Linked DNA regions of Homo sapiens: all the other regions are linked to region 1. Evidence: promoter capture Hi-C in human tissues and cell types (Jung and others, 2019). All regions are on one chromosome and are shown on one strand. The core of a region is centred on a gene start or on the middle of the fragment in contact, and the rest is flanking DNA. Distances in the headings are between cores, read along the strand shown.

The links. Contacts are between HindIII fragments. The study calls those that stand out against the background at their distance.
Region 2: a contact is called between a fragment that was not itself captured here and the fragment with the promoter of PPIF in region 1, in 1 of the 25 tissues and cell types used here (dorsolateral prefrontal cortex).
Region 3: a contact is called between a fragment that was not itself captured here and the fragment with the promoter of PPIF in region 1, in 1 of the 25 tissues and cell types used here (dorsolateral prefrontal cortex).
Region 4: a fragment that was not itself captured here is called in contact with the fragment with the promoter of PPIF in region 1 in 2 of the 25 tissues and cell types used here (H1 embryonic stem cells and heart right ventricle).

Annotation. Positions count from the first base shown.
Region 1 is chr10:79,345,872-79,349,020 of GRCh38, forward strand. It overlaps PPIF (peptidylprolyl isomerase F), which reads left to right and starts at 1,598. Exons shown (of 6, transcript NM_005729.4): 1 at 1,598-1,872. The coding sequence starts at 1,678. RefSeq lists cis regulatory regions at 1,265-1,842, 1,342-2,383, 1,342-2,015, 1,342-1,893, 1,342-1,892 and 5 more and silencers at 1,372-1,781, 1,802-2,031. The HindIII fragment of the contact is 10,018 bases long and covers 576-3,149 here.
Region 2 is chr10:78,042,027-78,045,175 of GRCh38, forward strand. It overlaps a transcript of RPS24 not described here. Among named protein-coding and RNA genes, the nearest start is that of RPS24, 9.7 kb to the left of the region's middle. RefSeq lists an enhancer at 605-714. The HindIII fragment of the contact is 6,274 bases long and covers 1-3,149 here.
Region 3 is chr10:78,205,249-78,208,397 of GRCh38, forward strand. No RefSeq gene overlaps it. Among named protein-coding and RNA genes, the nearest start is that of LINC00856, 42 kb to the right of the region's middle. The HindIII fragment of the contact is 8,951 bases long and covers 1-3,149 here.
Region 4 is chr10:78,290,354-78,293,502 of GRCh38, forward strand. No RefSeq gene overlaps it. Among named protein-coding and RNA genes, the nearest start is that of LINC00595, 25 kb to the left of the region's middle. RefSeq lists an enhancer at 2,311-3,149. The HindIII fragment of the contact is 9,221 bases long and covers 1-3,149 here.

The DNA.
Region 1 (3,149 bases), core at 348-2,847:
GACATGTGCTGAGGGCTCAAGTGGGCTCCCCACTCAGGCCTGCTCACCTCAGGGCACAATCATAAGAAAGGAGGGGCTGCTCCCCAGGGCAGAGTGAGGCCCCATTCTGGGCTGGGACCTGGAATGCATCCCACCTGGGCTTCACTGGGTGCCTAGGCCCCTCCTAGGCCAGGAATCGGAGAAGGGGGCTATGAACTTCCAGAAGCCAAGCTAGCCAAACTTCCAGAGGCCAAGCTAGCATTCTTATGAAGCTAGGGCACTGCTCTGACCTCATGAATTTGCTTGGCTGGCATTTTGCTGCCTGACCTGTTCCCATGAGCCCATTCAGGATCTGGGGCAGGTCAGTCCAGAGCTGGTCCCTACTCCTGCCCACCTGCCTCCAAGGCTCAGCCCCACCCCTTTCTCTGACCCCTCAGGCCTCTAACTGAGACCGCAGCTCTCTGAATCCCAAACTGTGAGAAAGACAGTCCAGACTCTGTCCATCACAGATGCCCACAGGCACAGTACTTAGTTGACAAATCCATGTCTCTCTCGTTCATTTTATCCTAAGAACAGACACGAGAAAAAAGCAGGATGAGGAGCATGATCGCACCCTTACCCTCCAGATGGGAAACTGAGGCCCAGAGAGGCCTGGAGCACTGGTGCAAGCTGGTAGCAATACTCCAGGGCTCCCTAGCCCTAGCCAGTGCCTTCCTGTGTCCAGGCCTCAGCTTCCCCTGGGGACAGTACAAGTGTTGGGCCAGATGCTCTCTCAGGTCCCTGCGTGGCATCCATTTATTGCAGACCTCCCACCACCTTGCAGTGAGGGTGGCTCTGGCTGCTGGGAAGCCCACTTTCAGCACGTGGGGTTTAAATGCTCCTGCTGTGGGTCTCCCCACTGAGTCCCCTCCCAGGGTGCATGCTGATGGGAGGGGGCAGCTGGCAGTCTGCCCCGGGGCTGTCAGTGTGGGTCCTAGGAGGAGGGATCAGACCCAGTCCTGGGGAGGGCTGGGGGCCTGAAAGGAGCATGATGAGCCCAGGCTGCGTTTTCAGTCTTGCTAGAAGCAGGTCTGGTCCCCAGAAACAACTAGAGACAGGCCCAGGCCGGGACAAGCAGGCTAGGGGGCATCATGGGAGGTGTCTCAGCTTATCTCCTCCCTCTTGCGCCTCTAGCTCACTAATCCCGCCTCTCATCTCACCTTTCTCTAACCCTCTCAGACTGCAGGACCTAGGGCAGCAGGGAAGCTTATTTGGCCTGAGCCTTACCTGCAAAGGGCTCAAAGGTAGACTTTTGCTATTATATTCAAATTGCAACGTATAGATGCTCATATTTTGGAATTAATTACGTTTTAGCAGTTTTTCTTTTTTTAAAAAAATCTGCTGGTACCTTAATAAACATGGAACCAGCAACCTTTTGCCAGGTGTCTGTTCTCCGGGTCTCTGGGCCTGGAGGCGGGAGTGTTTCAAAGCACTTCACGCTCCGCGGCCCCACCGGCTGGCTGCGCTGCCCGCTGCGGCCGGCAGGGGTAGTCCACGGACAGGCCTGGAGGAGGCGGGACGGGGGCAGGGCCGGGAACCTGGGCAAGCCAATAAAGGCTGCGGCGCGCGGCTGCGCGGGACTCGGCCTTCTGGGCGCGCGCGACGTCAGTTTGAGTTCTGTGTTCTCCCCGCCCGTGTCCCGCCCGACCCGCGCCCGCGATGCTGGCGCTGCGCTGCGGCTCCCGCTGGCTCGGCCTGCTCTCCGTCCCGCGCTCCGTGCCGCTGCGCCTCCCCGCGGCCCGCGCCTGCAGCAAGGGCTCCGGCGACCCGTCCTCTTCCTCCTCCTCCGGGAACCCGCTCGTGTACCTGGACGTGGACGCCAACGGGAAGCCGCTCGGCCGCGTGGTGCTGGAGGTGAGACCGCTCGCAGGGCCGGCCTGGGCGCGGGACACGGGCCCGGGGAGAGCCCTGGGCCCCGGGCGGCGCGGTGCCGGGCGCGCTGGGTGACCTTGGGCCTCCCCATGCCGAGCTCTGGGCCTCAGTTTCCCCATTTCTGAGAATGGGCGTCAGAATGATTTCTTCCGGCCTCCCTCGGAGCACTGGAGCGGGGGAGACGGGAGGGAGGGCACGTGTGGAGGAGAAAGCTCAAGGTCAGATCGCAGAGAGGGAGGGCTCAGCACCTCTGGGCCGGCCCGGGCACGAGGGAGGGGCTCCAGGAGCCTTCTGGGGCTGAGCCTAGATCCGGAGCTCCGAGGTGGGTGTCGGGGGTCTTGGGGTGAGCGTCGTGGCCCAGCGGGTGCTCACGTGGCGGCCCTTGCACAACACGGAGCGCTTCCTGGCTCCGGCCCCGCCCCTGCGGTCGGGCTCACACTGGGGGTGCTGGGAAATGGAGCGAGAGGTGGTTTCCAGCAGTAGTGCGGGCCCAGTAGGCCTCAGGCCCCGGCCACCTGGTGGACCCCAGAATGCCCCTCCTGCGAGTCGGGACACACTCAGAGACAGTGTGCCCGGCGCCTCAACCCCTGCCACTGTCCTTGGGGGCCACACTGAGCACCTCCCCTAACTCTGTTTTTGGGTCTTTTCTAAAGCAAAGTAAGAAACAGTCACCAGGGTAGCTTTAGAGGGAAAGCCCTAGTGGAGCCTTCAGGTCGGCCACACATTGACAGCAGGGGTCTGTTTGTGTTGACTGGCCCGTATCCCAGGGAGCCCTTAGTATTTCTTCTTCATTCTCAGTTTCTTCTGGAAAATAGGGACACCCTTCCTGCTTCCATTTGGTTCCAGGGTGGGTCTTGCAGCTTCGAGGGTAGAGGCTGGCTGGGATGGGGCTTCAGCCTTCCCTCCCCACACCCTCATGCCTCTCCCTGGGCCTCAGTTTCCCAACCCCGAATGGAGGAGCTGGTCTGGCTTCTACCTTAGACACACTCTCTTGTCCCTGAATTTCTGATGCTTTGGGCCCAGCTGTGGGAGCACTGCCAGCTGTGTCCACAGAAGTAGGCCAAGATAGCATTGTCATCTCTTCTGACAGATTAGGAAACCAAGGCCACCTCCTCCAGCCTTGGGTTCAGGAAACGGCTCCCAGAAATGATAGAGCTGCCTCCCATGGGGGTTGGCAATAATGGGAATGGAATGTCCACGTGCTTCTTCCTTAGCCTCCTTGGCCACTGTGGGGGTGGGTGGGTGCTGAGAGACACCCA
Region 2 (3,149 bases), core at 420-2,919, 1.3 Mb before region 1:
TGATATTATAGAAAATGTGGCAGTCTTGCTGTGAGCCTTGTTAGGCATAACATTTGGAAACTTGGCAAATTTTACGTAAAGGTCTGGATTTCCAGCCTCTTGAAATACCAGAAGCAGCAGTAGTAGCCCACCTTCCTGTTTGATAACAATTGGCAGGGCTCCAGGCTGGCTGCATCTGTTGGGACAGGTATTCTCTGGTCTCCACAGCCTTTGCTCCTACGGCCAGCTAACACCCTCCTCTACCTGCCCTCTGGTCTTCTGTCCCTGCTGCCTGCTTCTCTTCCATCTAGTCCATCCAAGTGTTTTTTGGGGAAGTCACCTGGTACCTTGTTAGGGTTAATTTGTCTTTTAAATTGGGCTCCCAAGGGTATCTGCTAGCTACCCTGGCTCACAAGGCTATTTTGAGGCTGAGGATGTAACAACTGTGAAAACAGTTTGGAAACTAGTGCTAAGCAATTGTTTGTCAGGAAGCAGGGACTTGTGGGAACTCAAACTGTGGACAGATTCAGCACATTGTAGGCCCTCACAGTAACCAGGCTACCCTGTGCTGTCAGCAGGCTTTGGAAGAGCCTCCATAAAATGCAAACTTGACTTTACTAAGCTGAATCAATATTGAGGGAGCACATCCCTTCCTTCAGCTTGTCACTGATGGGAAGCTGTGGCTTAGAGAGAGCAGGGATCTTTGAAGAGTGATGAGAAACTCAGCTAGAGGTGGTTCTGGGAAGGTACCTGCAGTGAATATTTGGGGTGCTGCTTTTTAGCTTTTCCTAGCACCACAACCATGAGTTCTGTTTGTAGCTGGATGTGCCTATGTAATCAGGCAGCTTTCAACTCTGCACTCTTCCTTTCTTCCCTGGCAAGTTGCTTATTTTAGGCTGCCCTTAAAGACAGCATCTTACATGGTGCTCTCATGGAGCCGAAACAGGTGCTGTCCTAAACTCTGAACAACGATCTCCATTAATCTGCGCGCGCACACACATACACACATATTTTTTTTGAGATGGAGTCTCACTGTCACCCAGGCTGGAGTGCAGTGGCAGAATCTTGGCTCACTGCAAGCTCTGCCTCACGGGTTCACGCCATTCTCCTGCCTCAGCCTCCCAAGTAGCTGGGACTACAGGTGCCCGCCACCATGCCCGGGTAATTTTTTGTATTTTTAGTAGAGATGGGGTTTCACCATGTTAGCCAGGATGGTCTCGATCTCCTGACCTTGTGATCCGCCTGCCTTGGCCTCCCAAAGTGCTGGGATTACAGGTGTGAGCCACCGTGCCCGGCCTAATCTGCATGTTAACTCCAAGAAGCATGTCTTCCTGGACCCACGCTGGAAAGGGTGTAGAGCAGTTAAGCATCTTACCAGTGTCTCACCCATGAAGTGGTGGGGATGGGATTGGAATGCAGTCATCTGACTCCAAAACACTGCATTTTTTCAGGCACTCCAGTATTAAGCTACTTTGCACTGTGCATATAATGGTATATAAAACTCATGACTGCCAGCAGGGTGCCAGTTGCCATGGGTTTATTGAACAAGTGTTAGATGGCTAGCCAAATTCCCAATTTACTGACCACCTGCTGTGTCCCTGTTCTGCAAGTTGGGGATAAAGAAGCTGTTCTGTCTTGAAAGCTCTGAGGTAGTTAATGACGATCCCATGATCTGGCTTCTGTTCCTTTCTGTGAAGTAGCAGATAGTGTATGACTGTGACGTGATAGAAATTGAGAGCCAAGAAGATCAGTGCAGGGAGGCTGGGTCTTGGAAGGCTTCCAGGAGACATACAGCAGTCCCCACCTATCTAGTTTCAGTTGCTGTCGGTCAACTGCAGTCTGGAAAATTATCATGGCTAAATGGTCTGGGATCACCCAAAAGTGATGATCCTCTTGAAGTGTCATCAGAAGGTCAATAGTAGCCTAACACGTCACCATGCCTACGTCATTTACCTCCCTCTCCCTTCCACATAGGCATTTTATCTCCCATCAAGAATGTGAATACATGTACGTATTCAGAGGAAAAGAGTTCATGCAGCCTACTACAGTATAATTATTAATATCTTACTCCCTAAATTATGAACTTTAATTATGTATATATAGCAACAAACTTGGTGTAGATAGGGTTTGCGGTTTCAGGCATCCACTGGGGGTCTAAGAACGTTTGCCCCATGGATAAGGGAGGATTACTGTAACACCAGCAGTGGCAAGAGACATGATCTGATTTGGATGCACAGGAGAAAGTTCTCATTTGAGGCCATGAAAAATAGGAAAGAAAGCAGGGAGATGGGAGCAGGCAGTGTGGGACAAGGTGAGACCAGTCATTCTGCAAGGGGAAGAGAGGATGACACTGGGGAGGTGGGAGCAGAGTGGGTAGGTAGGCATTCTCTTGAATCAACAAGATGGAAGGCCCTACATGACTGATGCCTTTGAGCAGAGTTTTGCACAATGCATTTCTGGTGGGAGATACTCCATTTCAAAAATAGTCTTCAGGTTGGCTGCTAGAGCACAGAAGTATGACACCTGACTCATTTGTGCTGGCAGAGAGGCTCTCCTGGGTTTTAGAGCTTTGTGAACACACCTCCATACATTAATCCAACTGTCCTTCCCCATCCACTCACCCTTGAACTTCCCGCATGCCAGATGTTGAGGGGAGGCAGAAATGAGACCTGCCTCCCAGTGCCCACAGTCTGGATGAGAGGGTACAGGTGAGGTCCTGGTAAGAAACGAAGCTGGAGAGGTCAGCGGAGAATAAATCAGGGAGGATCTTGTATGCCAAGCTAAGGATTTCACTTGTTCAGTGTTTTGGTTAAAGAAAATAAAACGTTGGAGAATTAGATGTTCTGCAGTGGATTGTGTGTTCTTTTCACATGCCGAGTTCCTCCACACAGGAAATACTTTGGCAACGCTCTGGCTGCTCATCATGCATATTGGAGAGGGAATTTATGTAGAAGGTTATGGGTCGATGAGATGGCATCCAAGTATTTATCGTATTTTTTTGAGATGGAGTTTCACTCTTGTTGCCCCGGCTGGAGTGCAATGGCACGACCTCAGCTCACTGCAACCTCCGCCTCCTGGGTTCAAGCAATTCTCTGCCTCAGCTTCCCGAGTAGCTGGGATTACAGGCATGTGCCACCATACCTGGCTAATTTTGTATTTTGTAGTAGAGA
Region 3 (3,149 bases), core at 431-2,930, 1.1 Mb before region 1:
CAACCACAGCATAGAGCCTGGCAGAGCAGCCTCACTGCCTATGGAACTACTCTAAGATGAGACAATGGGAGTGATTTCTGGACTTTCAGACCAGGGCAATTTCCTGGGTGTCAGGATGTGGGTGGGCGTGGGAGTGGGAGTGGAAGGCCCTGCTCTCAGGATCTGTGGAGCCTCTCCCTATAGAATCTTGAACGACAGAGCTGGGCAGGTGGTCCCTAGGACACACAGTGAGATGTTAACTCTCATTTCCCAGGCCTGATTCTGTATGTGGGCCTAGTTTGAGGCCTCTGTACCTCCAAGTGAGCCTTGCCCCAGAGAGCACGGCCCCAGAGAGCACGGCCAGGCCCAGCTACGGCAGCTGGCATGGCCCTGTCTGATCCTCCCTTTCATTCTGGGCCTCTCTGAACATCCGGCCCTGTGCCCTCCATCCTTGGTGTTCAAAGCTTCACAGAAGCAGCTCAGCAGGAAATGAGAGTGCTCTGACCCCTCTAGTCCCTTAAACTCTTTTAAAGGAAGAAATACCCTGATGGGAGTGTCTTCTGGCAGATTTACATTTTTTAAAAAATGCCAGTCACTGCTCTACAAAATGGGAAGCCCAGGCTCTAGAGTGAAGATCAAGGTGCAGAGAGCTGGGTGGCCGACTTTTCTCATCATTCTGCTCTGGGCCAAGGGCTGCTTCTCACCCTGCTTCCCCAGAGAGTAGCCACAGGGCCAGGCTCCCTCCATCTCCTCTCCCTGCCCAGCTCTAGCTTGGCCCATGGCTCTCTGAACCTCCCACTGCACTCCTGCTTCTGTTTTTTTGGGTGCCTGACCTCCACCAAGCATCTCCTTCCCCTCCTAGCTCCTGACCCGAGGCCTTGGAGGAACCCTCCCTAGGTTCCAACTGGGAGGGCATCCCTCCACTACATGTCCTTTGAGACTGGTTCTAGAGCCCAGCATCAGGAAACTATACAGGTTTGGAGCCCAAGAGATCTGAATTTAAAGTTTAGCTCTATAGCCATCAGCTTTGGAATTTGGGCAACTCACAAACTCTCCCTGAGCCTCAGGTTTCCCATCCAGAAAGTGGGTATAAAAGCACCCATCTGAGAGAGTGACTGCAAGACGGTGAATGAATGTGTGTGATGTGCCTAGCAGCCAGCCTGAGAACAGTTCTGTTCCAAGTGGGGCCCAGGACTGGTGCCATCCGCAGACTGGTCATAATAGAAATGGAGAGTGAGAATACTTGTACAGCAGCTTGACAAGATGGTGACATTTTAGCTTATTTCATGAAAGCATTTCCAACAAATTGGAAAATAAACTGATTGGAAATGAAACAAACTGGTTCTTCCACACTTAGACTTTGAGACGTCTTACTCAGCATGGAAGAAATCTCAAGAAACAGTGGTTATTTTCATCCATCCATCCACCCATCCACCCACCTATCCACCCATATGCCCACCCACCCACCCATCCACCCATACGCCCACCCACCCATCCATCTACCCACTCATCCATCCACACATCCACCCACCCACCCACCCATCCACCCATCCACCCATCCACCCATCCACCCATCCATCCATCCATCCATCCACCCACCCATCCATCCATCCATCCGTAGATTCACCCCTCACGGTGAATTCATCCCTCATGGCGGATGCTCAGAGGACCTAAATTTGGCTCTGGCTGTGACTCTTCATTTATTGAGCTTTGTTGGGGTAGATGAGAGAGGTCTGTATGTTCCCCAAATTTCTTCAGGCAGAGGCAGCTCTGAATTATATCATATTGTCAGGGGTAGGGCCAGGAGAAGCCCCATCCCCCAATTGCACCCCTTGCCCTTGCTTGGCTCCTGCTTTCATTTTCATCAGGAAAACCCGGGTAGGATTTACTCTAAGTCTGTTCTTCATCTTCCCAAAACTCAAAGTCAGGAGTTTGTCCCCCACTCCACCTCCCCCAAACTAATTTCCTTTTATTATGAAAACCAGAAAAATGACAAGTAATTGCTTGAAGATGTTAGAAAGATTGCATTTTGTTTTGCTACTATCAGCTTAAAAATAATGTTTAAGAGATTATGAATGGGTGATTAACTATTTTTTCTATTACTTCTCTCTCAAAAGCAAAACCACAACGATTGTGATATGCACAGTAAAACGAAAGCCCAGCTATCTGAAACCAGGCTAGAAGAAACCAAAAATACCCACCCCACAAGGAGCCATGTCCCTTTCGGGGAGAAATTGTTGCACTCAGATCTGGGAGAAGACAGAGCCATGCAAAGTTAAGTTGCTAAAGTGGCTAAAAACAAACATGGTCTCCACGCGCTAATTTTTCTCCATGGCCCCTCCTCCCCACTCCTTACAGTAAACAGCAGTTATGGGGACTGCAGTCAAATTCCCTATTTACTGCCTTTCCTGAGTCAGTTTCTTTTGGGTGAAAACAGTCTCTGATGCAGCTCTATTGCACCATTTCAGCGGGTGTTTATCATTTAAAAGGAACAATTTTAATACCTACATTTGCCTTACAGTATGAGCCATAAATGTGATTTAGGTTTCCCTTTATAATAGACTCTACAAACGATTGCCTAGGCTCCAGAAGAACTGTTTCTCCAAGTGCTGGCCATGAAAATGAACAGGCTTTTCCTTTCTTTACGAAAGTTTTCCTTTTTAATACCTCTTGAAATTAATTGAACAAAAACTGGGTAAATGGGCTGACTCACACATCTTCCTTGCTGGGAGTCTGGAGCCTGCCAGCAATGTCTTGGGAAAGGATGGGTCTCCCAGAGTGGGCATGGGAGGAAGGCCCAGGAGGTTGTGCTGCTGATGCTGTTTGTCCTACTTCCTGCCCCCCTGGGCCCCAGCTTCCTCCTCTGCAATGGTGGGGTGGCGATGGTGGTAATAACATAGATCTCCGACATCAGTGCTACTCAAAGCCAGGTTTGTGGGCTGGCAGCATCAGCATCACCTAAGAGCTTGCTAGAAATGCCAATTCCCTGGCTCTGCCCAGACTTGCTAAATCAGAATCTGGAGGTAGGGCCCAGCAATCTGTACGAGAAGGTTGTCCGGGTAATTCTAATACATGCTAATGTTTGGGAAGCTCTGACTATTTGGAAGCAGAACTAGAAGCCTGTCAGGGGTCACAGTGAACTGCTGAAAGTGTTTATGAGCTCCCATAAT
Region 4 (3,149 bases), core at 178-2,677, 1.1 Mb before region 1:
CTGGGGTGAAGGCCAAGCCTTCCCTCTGCACCTGGACGAGGTGCCCAGAGCCCAACCCAAGGGTGGGTAGTACAGACCTTGCACCCACCTGCTCCTGGCCATTTTACTGAGCCTCAGCAGTGGCGATGATCATTGTCAGGAAGGTCCCAGCCCTGATCCCCATCTGCCAGCTCCAGCTTGGCTTGCAGGGAGCAGACAGCCTGCTCTGTTGTGCCGGCTCCTGGCTGCACAGCCTGCTGTCGCTCTGGCCTCCCCACAACTCTGCCCCTCAGAAGCTTCTGAGGGGAAGGAGGAGAGGGAGCGCTGCATGTTTAGGAGATATGGCATAGACAAACCAGATACACCAGAATGGTCACGTTACTCTGCAAGCATAAATTGAGCTCAGGCAACAGGCACTAGGTAAGTGTTTGCATGAAGGTGCAACCTGTTTAAAAGGAACCTTAACTGGTCTGGGCCAGTTGTAATGAGAGAGCACCTTGTAAATGGGAGAGCATAGCCAGGTGAGCTTGGCAGCTGTCAGATTAAAAATCAGTTTTGACCAAAATAAATCTATTATGGTTCTAGAAATGCCCCCTGGACCAGGAATGCAGAACAGGGGCTGTGTGACTTTATTCCCCATCATCTCTTCCACACCTGGCACTGAATGGGCACTGAATCCGTTGAAGACTGAATGAGTTCTAACATGTCCATCCATATTAATAACTAAGATTTATCTAGTGCTTGCTACAGGCCAGACATTTGGCCAAGCACGTTGCATTATATCTAATCCGGCAATGCCTCTAAGGGATAGGGACTCTTACATTACATTTTACAGTTAGGAAAGTGAGACCCACTGGGGCAAAGTGATTTTTCCAAGATTACAAGTGGGAAATGATGCGGCTGGTCTTGGTACCTGGGTTGCCTGAATCTAGATATGGCAATCTTGCAGTGCCATTGGGCAGCTTTTCATAAAACATTGTTCTAGTTGGCACAGTTTTTCATACCTGTTACCTGAATGGCTTTGCAAACCAGTTAGCTCTAAGCTGCCCCCATCTCTGGGTTGGCTACTGCAGCAGCCTCCTCCCTGGTCCCCTGACTCCCCTTCCGCCCCTCCAAATGACTCCCCCTGGCAGCAGCCAGGGTGACCTCAGCAGGCAAGTCTCATTAGAGTGTCTCAGAGAACCGGTGCTTCCCATTGCTTGTGGGGTAAGGACATAGTTCCTGAATGCAGCCCACCAGACCCTACCAAGCACACGGCCTCTTAACCAGCAGCCATGAGCTATCAGGGGGCTGAGAAATCAATGTCATGGCTTGTGACCTTAAAGCAAAGACATAGAATGAGCTAGAATAGAAATAGAATAGAAACTCTCAGAGAGGTCACATTTAATGTGGCAAGAATAACTGCTTCATCAGTCTTTTTGAAGTGGATGTATGCAGGTAATTACACATGTATGCACATGTGTGTGTTCTACGTTCCGGGTCAGCAAGCAAAATGTGTTTCTTACCATAGGGCATCATAAAAAATGTGGGAATTCAGTCATATAGGAGCTCCTGATCTAAGCTCATGCAGCCCACACCCCTTTCCTCTTAGCTCACAGCCACATGGTCAGCTTTAAGCCCCTTTCAGCTTTAGTTAAAGACACAGGGCTTTTGCCTGGAATGTTGTTCCTGCCTCTTCATTTAGATAACTTGACCATTCTTTCTTTCTTTCTTTTTTTCTTTTCTTTCTTTTTTTTTTTTTTTGAGAAAGAGTTTCACTCTTGTTGCCCAGGCTGGAGTGCAATGGCACGATCTCAGCTAACTGCAACCTCTGCCTACCGGGTTCAAGTGATTCTCCCGCCTCAGCCTCCCCAGTAGCTGGGATTACAGGCACCTGCCACCATGCCCAGCTAATTTTTAAAAAATATTTTTAGTAGAGACAGGGTTTCATCATGTTGGCCAGGCTGGTCTCAAACTCCTGACTTCAGGTGATCCACCTGCTTAGGCCTCAAAGTGCTGGGATCACAGGCGTGAGCCACTGCGCCCAGCCTGACCTCATTCTTTCAATCTCAACTCAGGCACCGCTTCCTCCATGAGCCCTCCCTGGCCCTCCCCACCCCGACCCTCACCCAGTATCCACCCACACAGCACCAGGGACTTCCCCTTTATAGCGTTTCTCACTGCTGCACTTTGACATGTGCTCAAGTACTTATTCCACTGATGGCAGACCCCCCACTAGTCTGTGCTCCATGGGGATGTCACCTAGGGGAGGACAGCCTGTCTTAGAGTGCCCGATGGGGTCTGGGACAGGTTTATTTTTGCTAACCATCGTTCCCTGTGTCTAGCTAGCACCATGTCTGGAATATAGTAGGTGTTCAACAAATGCATGGAGATTGAATGGATCTGGAGAGGCAGAGTACTGCTGTGATCTTTATAGATGAGGAAGTGGAGCCCCGGAGAGCCCTAGAATGATGCGCTTAATGCCCCAGCCAGGTTAATCTCTAGAAGCCCTTCTGCTCTTCACTCCCACCATGGCATTTCGCAGTCCCCAAAGTCTGGCTTGAGGTGTCAGTCTGAGTCCTCCCTCACTCTCCCTGCCCTCCTCACCCTCTTGTCCACAGCTCCCTCCCACTGTGGCCTCTGGGCTCCTTTTCCCTCTCCAGCTGGCTGACATAGGGGGTGGCTGGGGGAGGCACAACTCAGAAAGTGACAGCGACAATATTAGGAGTGAAAAAGATCAATTAAGCCCATCGAGCTGATTTGTGAAGCTGATTAAATTAGGAGCCTCCCTGGGGGCAGAGGCTCTCTCAGGTTGATAGACCCAGCTGCTGGCTGCTGTAGGGTCCTTGCCAGCCCCCAGGGTGCAATGGGGGCCACTTTGTCCTGCTCTGTCCACGGAGAGGGGATGAGGGGAAGCTCCCTTTAGAAAGCCCTGGCAGGGCCAAGCTCAGCACCCAGCCCATGGTCCCCTGTGCTTTCTTATAGAATCCCCTGCAATCCTGGGGCACTGAGTAGATTGGCCTGACTTTAAAATAAGATCCTGGGCCTCAGAGAGCTTAGGTGGCCTATGCGGGGCAACCCAGCTGGTAGGCACAGGTAAGTGCTGGACCTGGGACTGGAAACCAGGTCCTTCTGTTCCCTATGTGTTCTGTCCTCTCCTTGCCCTGTCCCCATATCCGGCTTCAACATCT